Regions from separate parts of the Homo sapiens genome. Here all the other regions are linked to region 2. Evidence: promoter capture Hi-C in 16 types of primary human blood cells and fetal thymus (Javierre and others, 2016). All regions are on one chromosome and are shown on one strand. Each heading gives the region's core, a stretch centred on a gene start or on the middle of the fragment in contact. The rest is flanking DNA. Distances are from core to core; before and after follow the strand shown.

Evidence for each region. The method cuts DNA at HindIII sites, captures the fragments that hold promoters and counts their contacts. A CHiCAGO score of 5 or more calls a contact.
Region 1: the fragment with the promoter of RNF20 here is called in contact with the fragment with the promoter of RAD23B in region 2 in 4 of 17 cell types (total CD8 T cells, activated CD4 T cells, naive CD4 T cells and 1 more); the score reaches 9.4 in total CD8 T cells.
Region 3: the fragment with the promoter of ALG2 here is called in contact with the fragment with the promoter of RAD23B in region 2 in 1 of 17 cell types (naive CD4 T cells); the score reaches 5.5 in naive CD4 T cells.

What each region holds. Positions count from the first base shown.
Region 1 is chr9:101,532,281-101,537,131 of GRCh38, reverse strand. It overlaps RNF20 (ring finger protein 20), which reads right to left and starts at 3,279. Exons shown (of 20, transcript NM_019592.7): 1 at 3,218-3,279; 2 at 1,580-1,734. The coding sequence starts at 1,708. It also overlaps a transcript of PGAP4 not described here. RefSeq lists an enhancer at 3,408-3,537. The HindIII fragment of the contact is 1,893 bases long and covers 1,508-3,400 here.
Region 2 is chr9:107,281,569-107,286,398 of GRCh38, reverse strand. It overlaps RAD23B (RAD23 nucleotide excision repair protein B), which reads right to left and starts at 3,120. Exons shown (of 10, transcript NM_002874.5): 1 at 2,704-3,120. The coding sequence starts at 2,769. RefSeq lists a silencer at 2,582-3,141 and an enhancer at 3,632-3,791. The HindIII fragment of the contact is 9,258 bases long and covers 1-4,830 here.
Region 3 is chr9:99,220,613-99,225,346 of GRCh38, reverse strand. It overlaps ALG2 (ALG2 alpha-1,3/1,6-mannosyltransferase), which reads left to right and starts at 3,405. Exons shown (of 2, transcript NM_033087.4): 1 at 3,405-3,800. The coding sequence starts at 3,453. SEC61B (SEC61 translocon subunit beta) reads right to left here and starts at 3,065. Exons shown (of 4, transcript NM_006808.3): 1 at 2,981-3,065; 2 at 2,704-2,801. The coding sequence starts at 2,983. RefSeq lists an enhancer at 2,996-3,315. The HindIII fragment of the contact is 2,183 bases long and covers 2,176-4,358 here.

The sequences.
Region 1 (4,851 bases), core at 2,030-4,529, 5.7 Mb after region 2:
CATTTACACTGCCATTGTTCCCACTTCAAGCACACTTTGGAGACTCAGTTTTTCTGTCCCGCAATCACAGCTGGCTCCTAACAGCAATCTCAAAATGCACAGGAGGGACTGCTTTCAATGGCAACCTTCAACCAATTGGAGCGGGGATCAGTGGATACATGCCTCAGATCCCCACCTTTGGAGAGATGCAGTTATAGCGAAAGAGAGTAAGAAGAAGAAAAGAAAAAAGTCTGCTAGCTGGACTCTTGTTTATAATCCTTGCTTTTCTATAGTCTCCAAACACAAGTCAGAGCATGTTAGTCTCCTACTTAAGACTATCCACTAACTCCTCATTGCCTCTGGATAAAGTCCACACTGGGGTGTGTGCTATGTGCTTCCCATAAGTATGTGCTTATCCCTGTCAACAGCACATACCCCACTCTAAACAGTCTATTCCCTTGTCAGTGCTACCCTACAAACTAAAGTCTAGGGGCTGTCTTCAGTGTAAAGGATAGTGTCTGGCAAATAACAAATACTCAACAAATATTTATATATTGAGTGAATAAATGCCTTTGGAATGCATGATGCAAGGCAGTGCTAAAACAAAAATCACTTCCTGCCAGCAATATTAAGTACCAGAACCTCAGGCAGCCTCAGAAATGACACTTCATCAACAACTCACTATGAATGTTCCTATTATTCTGACTCAAAAAAAAAAATCAGCCTCTCTAAAATAAACCTCAGCCTCAAAATCAAATAAGCAATAGATGTGGTTTTGCAAGCCATACAAATGTAAAGCATTTTACAAAATGTAAAACATTTTAATATCACATCCCCATGTCTGATTTTCAAAAAAGCAAAATCTTGACGTAGATCAAAACCTGTAAACTTCTGATGTCTAACAGATATATAACATTACTATGAGATTTTGGTATATAATACTCATTTTGTCAGCTCCATAAGAGCAAGGATAATATCTATGTTATGCACCATTATATTATCTAGCCCAATATTAGCTATGAATGCCTCCCATTTATTGACTATTTACTATATTAAATGCAAAGTGTTAGCCCTTAACAGGGACTCTTATTTTATATGCATAAAAATCTAATGTAGCAGGTACTCTAATTACATTTTACAGACAAGAAAACAGGCAAAGGAAGGATAACACAAGGTCAGCCAGCTAGGAAGTGGTACAGCTCAGAGTCAACTCCAGGCAATCTGGTCTCAGACTCTCACTCTTCACCATACTCTCAATGATTGCTAAACTGTCTCTTAGAATCTGGTACTGACTTTTTCAGTGAATGAAAAATAAATGTGTATCTTCCCACTGCTAAATACCTATAGTTAATGTTGTATCAGGCACCACCTTCCCAGATTCTCGAAAGAATATAAGTACACCTTGAAAACAAAGAACAACTATCAATCTACCTCTCCTCTAGAACTGACTACCACATCATTTTACCTACTTTCAGCCTGTTTTATTTCCCTCTTCTTTTCAAATAGCTTCCCCATACTCCAGAAAGCTTCCATGAATTTTTAGTTTCAAGTTGCAACTGACAGAAGACAAGCACACTTTCATGGCACTGTTTCCTCATACCGTTGAAGAGACACCTCCTAGCTTAATTGTTTCCACTGTGGTCCCTGAATCTTCAACAGCTGCCTTCTTCTCAGGAGGCATGGAGGTGCCAGGTTCTCCAGCTGCTCTTTTATTTCCAATTCCTGACATTTTGGCAGAAGAAGACAGTCGTTTTCCTGATAGAAAAAAAGGCAGAAACTGACATAATATATGTAAGCAAAGCAACAATAGAGTAAAACAATAGAGTAAAAACTAGCAACTTTTCTGGCCAACCCTTTAACCTGGATCCATTAATTCCACAACCATCTCCATATTTCTCTTTGAGGAAAAAAAAAAAAAATTAAATTGTAGAGTAAAAGTCAAGGCGGGCCGGGCGCGGTGGCTCATGTCTGTAATCCCAGCACTTTGGGAGGCCGAGGCGGGCGGATCAAGAGGTCAGAAGATCGAGACCATCCTGCCTAACACGGTGAAACCCCGTCTCTACTAAAAATACAAAAAATTAGCCAGGCGTGGTGGCGGGCGCCGGTAGTCCCAGCTACTCGGGAGGCTAAGGCAGGAGAATCACTTGAACCCGGGAGGCGGAGCTTGCAGTGAGCCGAGATCGCACCACAGCACTCCAGCCTGGGCAACAGAGCGGGACTCCGTCTCAAAAAAAAAAAAAAAAGAAAGTCAAGGCTAAATTTACATGACTATAAATTTCTAAATAGGATGGTGATAAGAATGGTGATAAGAAATGAGACAATGGGCAAAGGGTGAAGAGACCAAAAATAAAGTTCTGGAATCTCTCTTCCTGTAATGCCAAAATCAGAAAAGGGCAGTTTGATTATGCCAGAAGTTAATACTACAGTGTTGAAAGAATCACAGAGCTGAAAGAGATCTGTGAAATGCCTACTAAAGTCATTAGTACTAGACAAGTCAGTTATCATCTCTAAGCCTCAGTTTCCTAACCCAGGAATAAATAACCACAGTATATACTTCCTATGCTTATTATAAAATAAAATGGATGATATAATTATAGAAAGAATTTGGCACAAAGCCGAACACAAAGTAAGCACTCAGAAACCCCAGCTCTTCTTTAACGTTTGCAGTGTTTTCCCTATTTCCAAACGCTCTCTCCACTGTTTTATGCAACCCTACGTTAGTTAGACCTGGGTGCGAATTTCAGTTCTGCCTGTTAGAGGCCGTGTTGCTTTGAAACAGTGAATTCGCCAAGAGCTTCAGTTTCCTCAACTGCACAATATTAACGAATATATTTTTCGTCTGCCCTGCCTACCTCCCAGGGTGCTCAAAGGAGGCGGAATGGATGCTAAAGCACTTTGGCTACTTCAGGAAACAACGCAGCCATCACCGAGACTAACAAGACTACTCTGCTTCCAATTCAAGCTCCAGGAGAGGACTATCGCTGGCAACAACCTCAGTAGGACCTCGCCTGGAGAGAGAAGACACAGAAGCAGAACAAGGCTGCAATCCAACTCGCTAAAAGCCAAAGACCTCAGCCTCAGCGTGGATAATTGCAGGCCCAGGAGACTGACGGCCCCAAAACTGGAGAGGGTGGAGACTCCTGAGGCCTGGCACAGTCCTGTTGGGCCCTAAGCGTGATCTAACCTAAGTTCTTTGAACTGGCGCCGCGCGGGAACAGAACTCGCAGCAGTTACTCACCAAGGCCCGTGCAGAGATTCCAGCTCTCACCCCTGACCCGCGGCGGAGACAAGGCAGAACTTCCGGGAGGCGGGGCCACGGAGAGGAAAAAGGGAAAGAAAAAAGGAAGTGGCTTCAACCCAGCCCATAGGACTATGAGACCCCGCCGGGCGGAAGTGACGTACGGAGAGGGCACGAGAAGCTTGAGCAAGCGCCGCCTCCCTAGCAACGCTGGGCAAGCGCGGGACCCTCTCCTGGCTACGACCTCTAAGAGTACTCGGGCCTCGCTGATGCCTGACGGAGAGCCCTTGGCTTTTGTTGACTTGTTGACCTTTGCTACTGCGATCTGGTCTTTCTGCGGGGATAAAGTTCCTCATTCTGTTGCTTGTCATTGGGGTTGCCATCACTCGTTCAGACGGCCGATTGGCTGACGGTCCCGTCAATCTCCGGGGACATGACTAGCCTCAGACACCTCAGAAAATTGTTCGTTGGTACCCCTACGTGCTGAAATGAAGAGTTCTGGAGAGAATCTGAGGGATTTGAGGAATTTCAGATGTTGGGGATTTTTTCCCCCGCACAGGGAGCGGTATTCTGCCCTGTCTACACATTAGAATCACTTGGCCTGGACAAAAGCTTTTTTAAAAAAGCGTTCCCCTCATCTCCTCCCCCCAAACCCCGCATTTCCATCCACTAGATTCTAATGCGTAAGCAGGAGTGACAACTACTGCCCTTGTGCTTTTTTGGGAACAAGAAATTGTCCAGGGAAAAGATAAACGCCAATCAGTCTCTGATCTCAGTACTAGTCTATTTTAAGCTAATTAAGCATTGATTTTTTTTTTTAAGTTTATGACAAACTGCTATTTTCCATTCAGTTAAACTAAATGCGTTTTAATGATAGGACGGTAATTAATCTAACCTATTAATGAAAAGCTGTATGTCTCGCAGAACTATGATAAACTACCTAATGACGTCAGCTAAGGGTCTAGAAATGGAAGAATGATCGCTATATCTTTTTTAAAAAATAGAATTTAGGCATCTTGGGAAAAAAAGAAGCTAATCTACACTGGATTTCTGTTAGTGTGAAGACTTTTGTCCCTGTACCTGCTAGGGCTTACCTGTAAATGAAGTAAGATGGTCAACACCAGGGAAACAAGTGTTCCTGGTGCCTGGCAGTGGAACACCTTGACTATCTTGGAAAGAATTAACTGGCCCCAAGTGGACTTCACATTTCATTCCGTGAAGTGGGAGCCTGAGAACATGTGAGTGGGGACACACCTGCCGAAAAGCATTGTATGAGACAATGACACTCATTCTCTCATCTTCTTTGGTTCCTCTACTCTTAGCAAGCCTTTCATTCATAGAACTACTGAATGGCAAGTAATGGTTTTTCTAGCCCAGAAAACTAGAGGTTCACAGACTGCATTTAGCCAACAGTTATGCTTTGTTTATTTTAGACAGTATTGGCTGTCCTGCGTGGTTAAAAACAAGAACAAAAATGAACTTAGTTGCCAACATTTAAAATATGGCTATTTTACATAAAAATCCAAATTATCAGTTTCTCTAAAAAATGTTGATGATCTTGCAACAGAAGGGTTATATTTTTGCATGGTCACATTGCTTAGAGCAAAGTAGTGGCTTCTTCTTTTTTTTTTTTT
Region 2 (4,830 bases), core at 1,871-4,370:
CTTTCCATTTTGTATATCCCCCTACTCTATAGCCAATGAGCTTTGACTAAGTCAATAAGGCTCCCAGAAGCCCCAGACCACGTTCTACAGGTCCCTGTACTCCTCCAGTCCTGCCAGCAAAGCTCACTAAACATTTACTTGTTCAACAAATGAATCATTCCCATGATTCCACTTATCTCACAGTCCTTTCTTCCATTTTTGCTCATGCTCATCTCAAGCTCACAAGAGTTGCTATACTGGCTACGTAAGTTACTTAATTTCCTTGGTTCCTTCTAGGTAAAAATTAAACAAGGACAAATCTGTGACCAGACCAAAAACAGGTCTCAATAAGATCCTATCTTATTTTAGATCTATTTCTAATATCCTTGGTTACCTCGTTCTCACAACAACTTAGAAACAGGACACTTAGCGTTGCCCTAGAAAACATAATTTTCATTGTTTATTTTCTTACTGGAATTCTAAGGTGTCGTATCAAAAACACATACTAATTAAAACCCACTACAAACATAGAATTGAAACAGTTGTCATGAAAAATATTTCCTAAAGTCATTAAAATAAAAACTGACAAGTCATTAAATGCAAACGTTCCATATATCCCAGAGGAAATGCTTTAATTTCTTGCCCCGGACTAACAGTATTAGTTTTTTTATACTAACAGCAACAAAATTATATTTATATAAATAGCAGCGAAAGCTGTAGAAACCGCTCCCTAACAATGGGCTTTTCAAAAATATACTTCCAGACGTATAACATATTACTTTTCCTTGGAAATAAACTGGAAAACAGCAAAAATAGTTAAGAATTCACACAAACACAGGTACAGCATTGACTCTCAGTTAACAGTATGCGTAAAGTGCCTAAAACGCTAAACAAATCTTACAGAACGTAAATACTTCAGTGGAGCTGTTGACAGAGTCACTGCATAACTTCAATACACCCACACATATTTACCAAAAAGCCACAATATTTCTTTAGCTTTCAATAATTCTGAAATTAACTGAGTATTATAAGCCGATTAAGTTACTGGGGCACCAACATTTGTTACCACAAAGAACCAAAGTCAAATAGGCATTTTACGTAGTTTGTCTGAAATCATCAAACAAACTCCATTTTAACTTTCACCCTTCAACTTATTAATGCACATTAAGCAGTAAAGAAATATTCAAGAGAAATTAGATTCTATTAGTACTGTCAGTCCACAGGGTATTGTCAATTACTTCTGAGGACACTGAAAAGTTTCTCATGTATAACTGAGATCTCCTGTACTTTTAAGAAGTTAATCACACAGCATACACCCACATATAAATATTCTGAAATCAAATAATTTTGTACCAAAATCCCAAAAAGGCTGTTTCTTAAAAAATTAAAGATGTACAAAACTTAAGATTAAATGAGATAAGTAAAACGTAACACTGTATCTCCACTCAAAGGAATCCATTGTTTAAATAATCGATTCCATTTACTGACCACCAAGTAAATACATACCATCTAATCTTCACATCTCTGCAAGGCAGGTATTATCCCTATTATACAGAGAATGAAACTAACCGTAATTTGCCCAAGGTCATAGCAAATAAGTTACAAAACCACAAATGGAACTCAGGTCTACTTAACACCAAAGCCCCTGATCTCCACCCAAAATAGAATCAACTACTTTTAAAAATAGAGTTGGGCAGAAAGCTGCTGGTTTAAACTTAGTATTATGACAATCTTGGCGGTGTATTTCCGAACATAAGCAGTAAATTTACACTCACAGCGTTTTTAGATTCTTGGCATAAAGTTGTACTGACCTCAACAGTGTCTCTTTATGCAGTCACAAATACAGAAAAATGTATAATGTGGACTTCTGAAATGTTTAAGGCTTTAACTGCAGAAAGGATTCAAAGTTGTTGTTTTTTGTTTTTTTTTTCTTTTTTCCCCCTTGAACTGCTACTGTTTGGGGCATCGGGGGAGGGTGGCTGCAGCGTTCCAACTCCTACAATTCCAAGATTTCTAACACAGAAAACCCGTTAAATCTGAAGTTTAGTTTGAGCCTGGATGGCTGTGAAGAGCTCTAACAGCTAAAACCATCACCAAAGAGGCCTCAAAGTGCAATCTACGCAAGGGTGTGGGTTTGGTGGCGGGAGGAAGGCAGCAGAACGATTCATTTGCAAATAAAAGGGTAAACAATTCTGAGGGGAAAGGGGCAAATTCATTTTCACCACCACTCACCTCTCGGCGGCAAACGGAACCTGATACTTTTTTTTTTCTTAAGGCTCATCTTCTCGGGTTACCAACTCTGGGAACTAAGCGGCTAACCAGGTCCACACAGGGGTAGTGGCGACGCCTACGTCTCCCTCCCCCACCTGTGCACCCATACCAGAAAGCCAGGCTCTACGGCTGAGACGGCCTGGACCTTCCCATCCCCCTCCGGCCCCGCTAGCACGAGCTCCTAGGCCCAGGCCCGCGGGCGTGCGCTCCACGCCATCTGCCACCAGGCCTTCGGCGTCCGGCCACTGCTTCCCCATTCTCCTGCCACAAAGCCCACGGCCAAGACAGGAGGATCGGCTCCGCTGTACGCCGCCAGGGCCGGCACCAGGACCCAGGGCCCTCATCGCGCCCTCCGGGGCTTCCCCCGCTGGAGCGCGCCGCCCGGCCCCACGAGCTCCTGGCGCTCCCCGCGGCCCGCACGCGGCTGCCCCTGCCCCCGGCCCGCGCGCATACCGTCTCCTCGGGGTCAATGTCTATCTTGAAGGTCTGCTGCTGGAGGGTCTTCAGGGTGACCTGCATGGTGCCGCCGCGCAGCTCGGCTGCCGGGCCTGCGCCGGGTGCTGGCCGCTGGGCGGGGTCTGTGGCCTGGCGGGGCCCCGGGGTCGCCCGCGCTCCTCGCGCTCTGGGGAGGAAGGCGGTGGGGGTGGGGGCTTGTCACATTCGCCCAGCGGAGCGGCCTCTCCCCCAGCCCGTGCCCCGGACCGCGCCGCTGCCTCCGCGACTGCGGCCTTCCCCGCGAACTCGGGCCGCCGTGCTTCCTCACGCGCCGAGCGCCAGCCACGGAGTCTGCAGAAGGCGCGAGGGGGTCGGCGAGACAAGCAGGGAATCCGCTAGCTCACCACAGGATGGTGGCCGCCATCATCGTGACTCGCCGAGACGTGCCCCCTCCCCCACGCGAAAAACCTGGGGGGATGGGGCCGGGCGGGCGAAGCGCGCAGGCGTGGGGTGCGGCGACGCTTTGCGCCGGCGCGGCCGAGGACTCCGCCCCAGAATTGGGGGCGGGGCGGAAGGCGGTCCTGGAATGTCGGCGGCCTGGACCCGGATTACGCAGGCGCGTTCCGTGGGCGGCAAGGGCTCCTGGGGCTTCCTCCTAGCGACTATTGCTGGGGCGTTCTCTCCGGCTGCCGCGGCTCCGCCTCTGTGCAGGCTCCGCCCGGCTGCCGAAGTTACGCAATGTGTAGCCCGGGAAGCGCTTCGTGGAGACCCGGCAGAGTGGATGCGGAGCCCTGGAGCGGGGGAGTAATCGGGGCGGAGTTTAAGTGAAAGGATGGCGGTAACCACAGTCTGGGGGCCAGCACCCGCGGGGCGCTTGCTGCGGGGCTCAGCCCTGGGGGTGTCGACTGATTCTTTAATCCCGACAGCACAGACTCCTGAGCTGGACTGCCCGAGTTCAAATATTGTTTTTTCTCACTAGCCTAAACAGATGGACCGATTTAAAATGAAGGTCAAGTTCTGTCACACCTCGGGGTAGAACTGTCCAGTGTTTCCCCATCTAGCCCCGAGTTAAAGTCAGAGTTATTAGAACGGATGCATTAGCCCCTCGCCTTTCTCCGAGTCGCCTTACTCTCCCCACTGGTGGATTCTAGGTTGCCCCCGGCTCCCTTAACATCCTTGCTCAGATATTGCCTTCTTGGTGAGGTCTGTTCTGGCTGCCTTACTTAAAATCCCAACTTCCTATCTCTGTTATCCTGCTCTGTTTTCTTGTATAGCGGGTATCCCTTTATAATTACCCTGTAATGTACGTATCTCTTGTTTATCATCTTTCTCCTTTTCCTGTGAACCCCAGACTGAAGCTGCACAGAGGCAAAGATTTTGCTGTGTTCACCCATGAACATGCCTGGCACATTGCAGGTGCACGGTAAATATTTGTGGAATGGGTGAATGTGCTTCTGGATCCTCAGCAGTAGAATGAGAATAATAATGTCACTCATTGATTATTGGAGGGGGAAGTTGAATATTGTATGTAAAATCATGATAAACAGTCTGTAAGCAGTTAGCTATTAGTAGAAAGTCCGTTTACAGATAGAAAACTGAAGTACAGAGATGTTGAGTAATGCACCTGGAATAACCCAGCCAGTAGTAAATGGCAAATCCACAATGTGACCTCAGACAGAATGACTCCAGAGTCTGTGTCCCAGGGTGTGCCACTATTCCCCTGTTTTTTGTTTTAAAGATTATTCTTATTTTTTTAAAGCGTCTGACTGTCATCCACGCTGGAGCGCTGTAGCACAAACACGGCTCACTGCAGCGTCAACCTCCTGAGCTCAAGAGATCCTTCCACCTCAGCCTCTTGAGTAGCTGGGACCACAGACACACACCACTGCTTCCCAGCTGATATTTTATTTTTTTGTACAGATATGTTCTCCCTATGTTGCCAGGGCTGGTCTTGAACTCCTGGGCTCAAGTAATCCTCCTGCTTCGGAGTCCCAAAGTGCTGGGATTATATGTGAGCCATCGCTCCCAGCTATTCTCCTCTGTTTTATACTGTGCCTGTGGCACATTTGATTTAGTTCAAGTATAAAACACAGTTCTAGTCAGGCCACTAGCTCTATGACCAATTACAAATTACTTCTCTGGGAC
Region 3 (4,734 bases), core at 2,156-4,655, 8.1 Mb after region 2:
TAAAACAACTACCTACCTTTGCCCTATCCCCACCACTCTCTATCCCCCACCCAGCTTTATTTATCTTCATAGCCCTTATTGCCTGAAATTACATTGTCTTATTTTCCTTGCGTTTGATCTCCCACACTGGAATATAAGGTTCATGAGTACAAACCTTGCCTACCTTGTTCACAGACCCATCTTCGGAGATGAAACAGCATTTGGCATGTAGTAGACCTCAATACCTTGATGTCTATACATTGGTGGCTATTCCGCCATCTTAATATCCCTGATTCCCATTAATCCTGCTAGAACACTATGTGGCACTTCACACCTTTACAGTTTATAAAGCATTATTGCTCCTCACAGCAAGTTCCTTTTATATTGTATTTAGGAGAGCAAGAACACCAACTCTGGCCTGAGCTTAAATTTAATAACATTTCTCCTCCAAGGTAGTATCTATCACCTCATCAAGCATGGAGAAGGCAGCTCTACAGACAACATAATCCAAAGCACTATTATGAATCATTAACTTCCAATGTTTTCTCAGACTTATAAAGCAAAGATATTCTTAAACAACCAATACTTATTACATTATACTCATGAAATGATACTTAATCACTACCATTCTAGAAGGAAACACTGTCAGGTCTCTCAATACATACAACCATGGTCTTTCTTGTTACACTAGCTCTATCACACTGAATCCTAAAAGATGACACCAACACCCACGACTTTAAAAACTGCATCTGTCTGTCTTCAAATGTTTCAGTTCTCCATTTCACTTGTGCATCAGTTATTTCATTTTTACTATTAAATAAATAATTTCATTATCATATGTACATTTGATAAATATGTGCTTTTTCTTTTATTTCTTTACAAATTCTCGGATGGCCAAACTTCCCTGCCACAGTATTACCAATTCTCATTAAGCAGAACCATTCCCAAGGAACCGCACCCACAGGACATGTTTTCCATTCCTGCACGAAAAATCTCTAAAACCCAGGGTGGGAAGGGGACAGCACTCAAAGCCCATATAAGTTAAACCACAGCCTGATACACTCCTCATGAACATCCCAATGACAGGGAACTCAAAATCATTCAGGATAATTTTACATTTCTGCCAGTTCTATTAGAATGTCTTTGTTCTGATGTGAAATATTTCATGTAAGTTCAAATCATCAGTTTTAGATTTACCTGTTGCAGCCAGAAAATGTCACATCCCTCTTCACATCCTTCAGAAGTTTCCATGCATGTGTTCAAGATTTTTTCCTCCCTAGATAAAACCCCACTAGTTCCTTCAAAAATCCCAAAACAACTTGGTTGCTTGATTCCTTCCTTCAGTCATTATTTATTGTGTCATGCCTTATGGTGGGTACCTGGGATAGAAATGACTTGAGCAGGTTCTCTGTTAAAGTCTAATGAAGGAGATAAATATGGAAACATCACTGGTCTTATAATGATATGAACAAAATGCTATGGGGGCAAAAGGGAAAACTAGTAGCTACTGCTGCTTACAGACAGAGAAGGCCTCAAGAGGAAATAACCCCTGAGCTTAGTCTTGGAAAATAAGTAGAAATTTGCCTTGAGATGAGGGAGAAAGTTTGTGAATTCAGAAAACAGTAATGGGTTCACGAGTGCTGGATCATAGGACAGCAAAGAAAGATTAGGCTGAAGGCCGGGCGCAGTGGCTCACGCCTGTAATTCCAGCACTTTTGGAGGCAGAGACGGAGGATCACAAGGTCAGGAGATCGAGACCATCCTGGCTAACATGGTGAAACCCCGTCTCTACTAAAAATACAAAAAATTAGCTGGGTGTGGTGGCACGTGCCTGCAGTCTCAGCTACTCAGGAGGCTGAGGCAGGAGAATTGCTTGAACTCTGGAGGCAAAGGCTGTAGTGAGCCGAGATCGTGCCACTGCACTCCAGCCTGGGCGACAGAGTGAGATTCCATCCCAAAAAAAAAAAAAGGAAAAAGAAAGGTTAGGCTGAAATGACCACTAAGAGCTTTGGTATCCCCCCGGTTTTTTTTTTTTGTTTGTTTGTTTTTTTTAGTTCAGCAACAAGTAACAGAAACTACGCAGAAGAGTAACAGCAGAGCGAACGATGGACTGGAAAGCAAACAGCCTGAAGAAAAGGGTTAAGTAGCAAATGCAAAGCAGTAGAAAGGGAAAAGGAAAGAGCTTATGAGAAAGCTTTCAAGCAGAGTTTAAAGTCTGGCATATGACTAGAGAGAGAAAGAGCATAAGAAAAATCCAAGATGACGCTGACGTTTCTGGCTCTGAGTAAATGAGTGTACAACAGTGCCATATGGAAGTAAGGAGATATAATTGAGAGTGAGAGAGCTGAGCTGAAAAGAGACTAAGTTTTGTGTAGGACGAGTTATCTGTAGGACAGATTGCTTATGGGGCCGCCAGATGGAAATGTGAGTGCAAACCTCAGGTCCAGAGACACCAGTTTAATGACATCGGTTTTCTCAAAGTTATCTCTGACTCTATTCCAGTTTGTTAACTTTCCTTTTTTAAGAGTAGTGCCCTAAACTGAGCAACGAGAAAAAAAATGTCGCCTTCCTCCCAAAAGGCCTTTAACTACTCCCACGGCCACGTCACTAGAAGCTCATTTTGCCTTTGTCAATCTTCACATGCTAGGGTCTCCACCCCAGAATCAGCGAGGTTCTGGGTCCTATCTCCGAGTCTGGAAGCGAACGAACTGCAGGGTTCCTTACCTCTGCCGGACAGTGGATCCCGCCGCCCGGGCGGCCACTGCTTTGCTGGGAGAGCGCCCTGAGGATCCCACGTTAGTGCCACTGGGGGTCGGACCAGGCTGTAGAGGGAGACAAGCAGACAGACGGGTGAGCGCGGCAGGCCTGCCCCAGAACCCCGGCCTAGACACCCACACCCGAGGCTGGGGGAAGCAAGGGAGCTACAGAGGAAAAGCACGGCGCAAAGCAGGAGGAGTCAGGGCTTCTGGGAGAGGCGGGGATCATGGAAGGGCCGCCATACCATATTGGAGATGAGGGTGGCAAGGCGCTGACGCGGACGGATAGAAAGTTACGGAGCCCCCGAAAGACCGGCAGCTGGCGAGACTGACTCAGGCCCCGCCCCCGGACTTGCAGGCAAGGTCCTCTCTGACCCCAGGGACGCCTGGGTCGTCTCACGATATGCCTGTAGACAGTCTGCTACAGACAACTTAGTTACCTGCTGTATGGGAAGTAGAGACCTCCGGCCTCCTTCCTTTGGATCACAACGTCCTTCAGAAAGTCCAATCCCTACCGAAGGAAAAATATAACCGGGGTCAGACAAGATATTTTCTCAGGCAGTTACTAGACCCTCACAGATTTGCGCTGATGTGGCCTAACTGACGCACGTACGGCAGGGCGGGGTCGGCCCGCAGTGGCCAGCTGGGAGCTACGAGCGCGGAGCTTGCGCAGAAGACCCCCATCAGGGTGCGGGGTGCAGTTGCGGCTCCAGGGCCATGGCGGAGGAGCAGGGCCGGGAACGGGACTCGGTTCCCAAGCCGTCGGTGCTGTTCCTCCACCCAGACCTGGGCGTGGGCGGCGCTGAGCGGCTGGTGTTGGACGCGGCGCTGGCGCTGCAGGCGCGCGGGTGTAGCGTGAAGATCTGGACAGCGCACTACGACCCGGGCCACTGTTTCGCCGAGAGCCGCGAGCTACCGGTGCGCTGTGCCGGGGACTGGCTGCCGCGAGGCCTGGGCTGGGGCGGCCGCGGCGCCGCCGTCTGCGCCTACGTGCGCATGGTTTTCCTGGCGCTCTACGTGCTGTTCCTCGCCGACGAGGAGTTCGACGTGGTAGTGTGCGACCAGGTGAGGCGGCCGCGGGGCCGGCTGCGCGAGTGCGGACCTCGCCGTGGAGGGCGGCCGCGGGCATGACCCCTGAGAGAAGACCTTCCCTGTCTGCGGTTCGCAAAGATCGGAACTGACATGGAGAAGTCAGGGTTGTGAGCGAGCCTGTGGTTCTCTAACTTTAGTGTGGGCCCATTTAAAGTTGCAGATTGCTGGGGTTCCATCCTCCAGGAAGTTTTCATCCAGGTGCCCTGAGGTGGGGCCCAGACATCTGCATTTTAACTGGGTCATAGGGTGATTCCGAGGTAGATAGTCTTTGGGGCTCTGAGAAACGCTGGTATTAGAAGTCAGCTTCAGTCACCTTTTACTAATGAGTAACTCGCGTGTTGTCTTCCCGCTTACCTGTTATTTTTGTTGACTCTCCTTTCAGGCCATTTGCATCCCACTGTCCTTGTGTTCGGAGCCAGGCCACACCGTCCTCAGCAGTGTCATGTGTTAAAAACGCCAAGCTGAATATATCATGCCCCTATTAAAACTTGTACATGGCTCCCCATTGGTTTTTGGAGAAAAGTTCAAGCTTTTTACCTTGGTAAATAATGTCCACCTGGATCTGCCCTGTAGCTATTCTTGACTCTTTCCTTCGTGCATTTTTCCCCATCCTAAAAAAGATGACTTTAAAAAGTAACATTTACTCGATTAAAAATTTAGTAGTATAGAAGGATGTAACCTAAAAGCCCCGTCCTATTCTACTCCCTGAAGATAGCCACCGTTAAGTTTCTCTTGTATTTTTTCAGAAGTTGTGGTGACACCAGCCTGTGTCTTTTCATAGGTATATCTATATCTTCTTATTGGTACATAATTGGTATTATGACATACCTACTATTAGGCATCTTTTTCAGCAAAAATTTATTTATTTATTTATTTATTTTGAAACGGAGTCTTGCTCTGTCTCCCA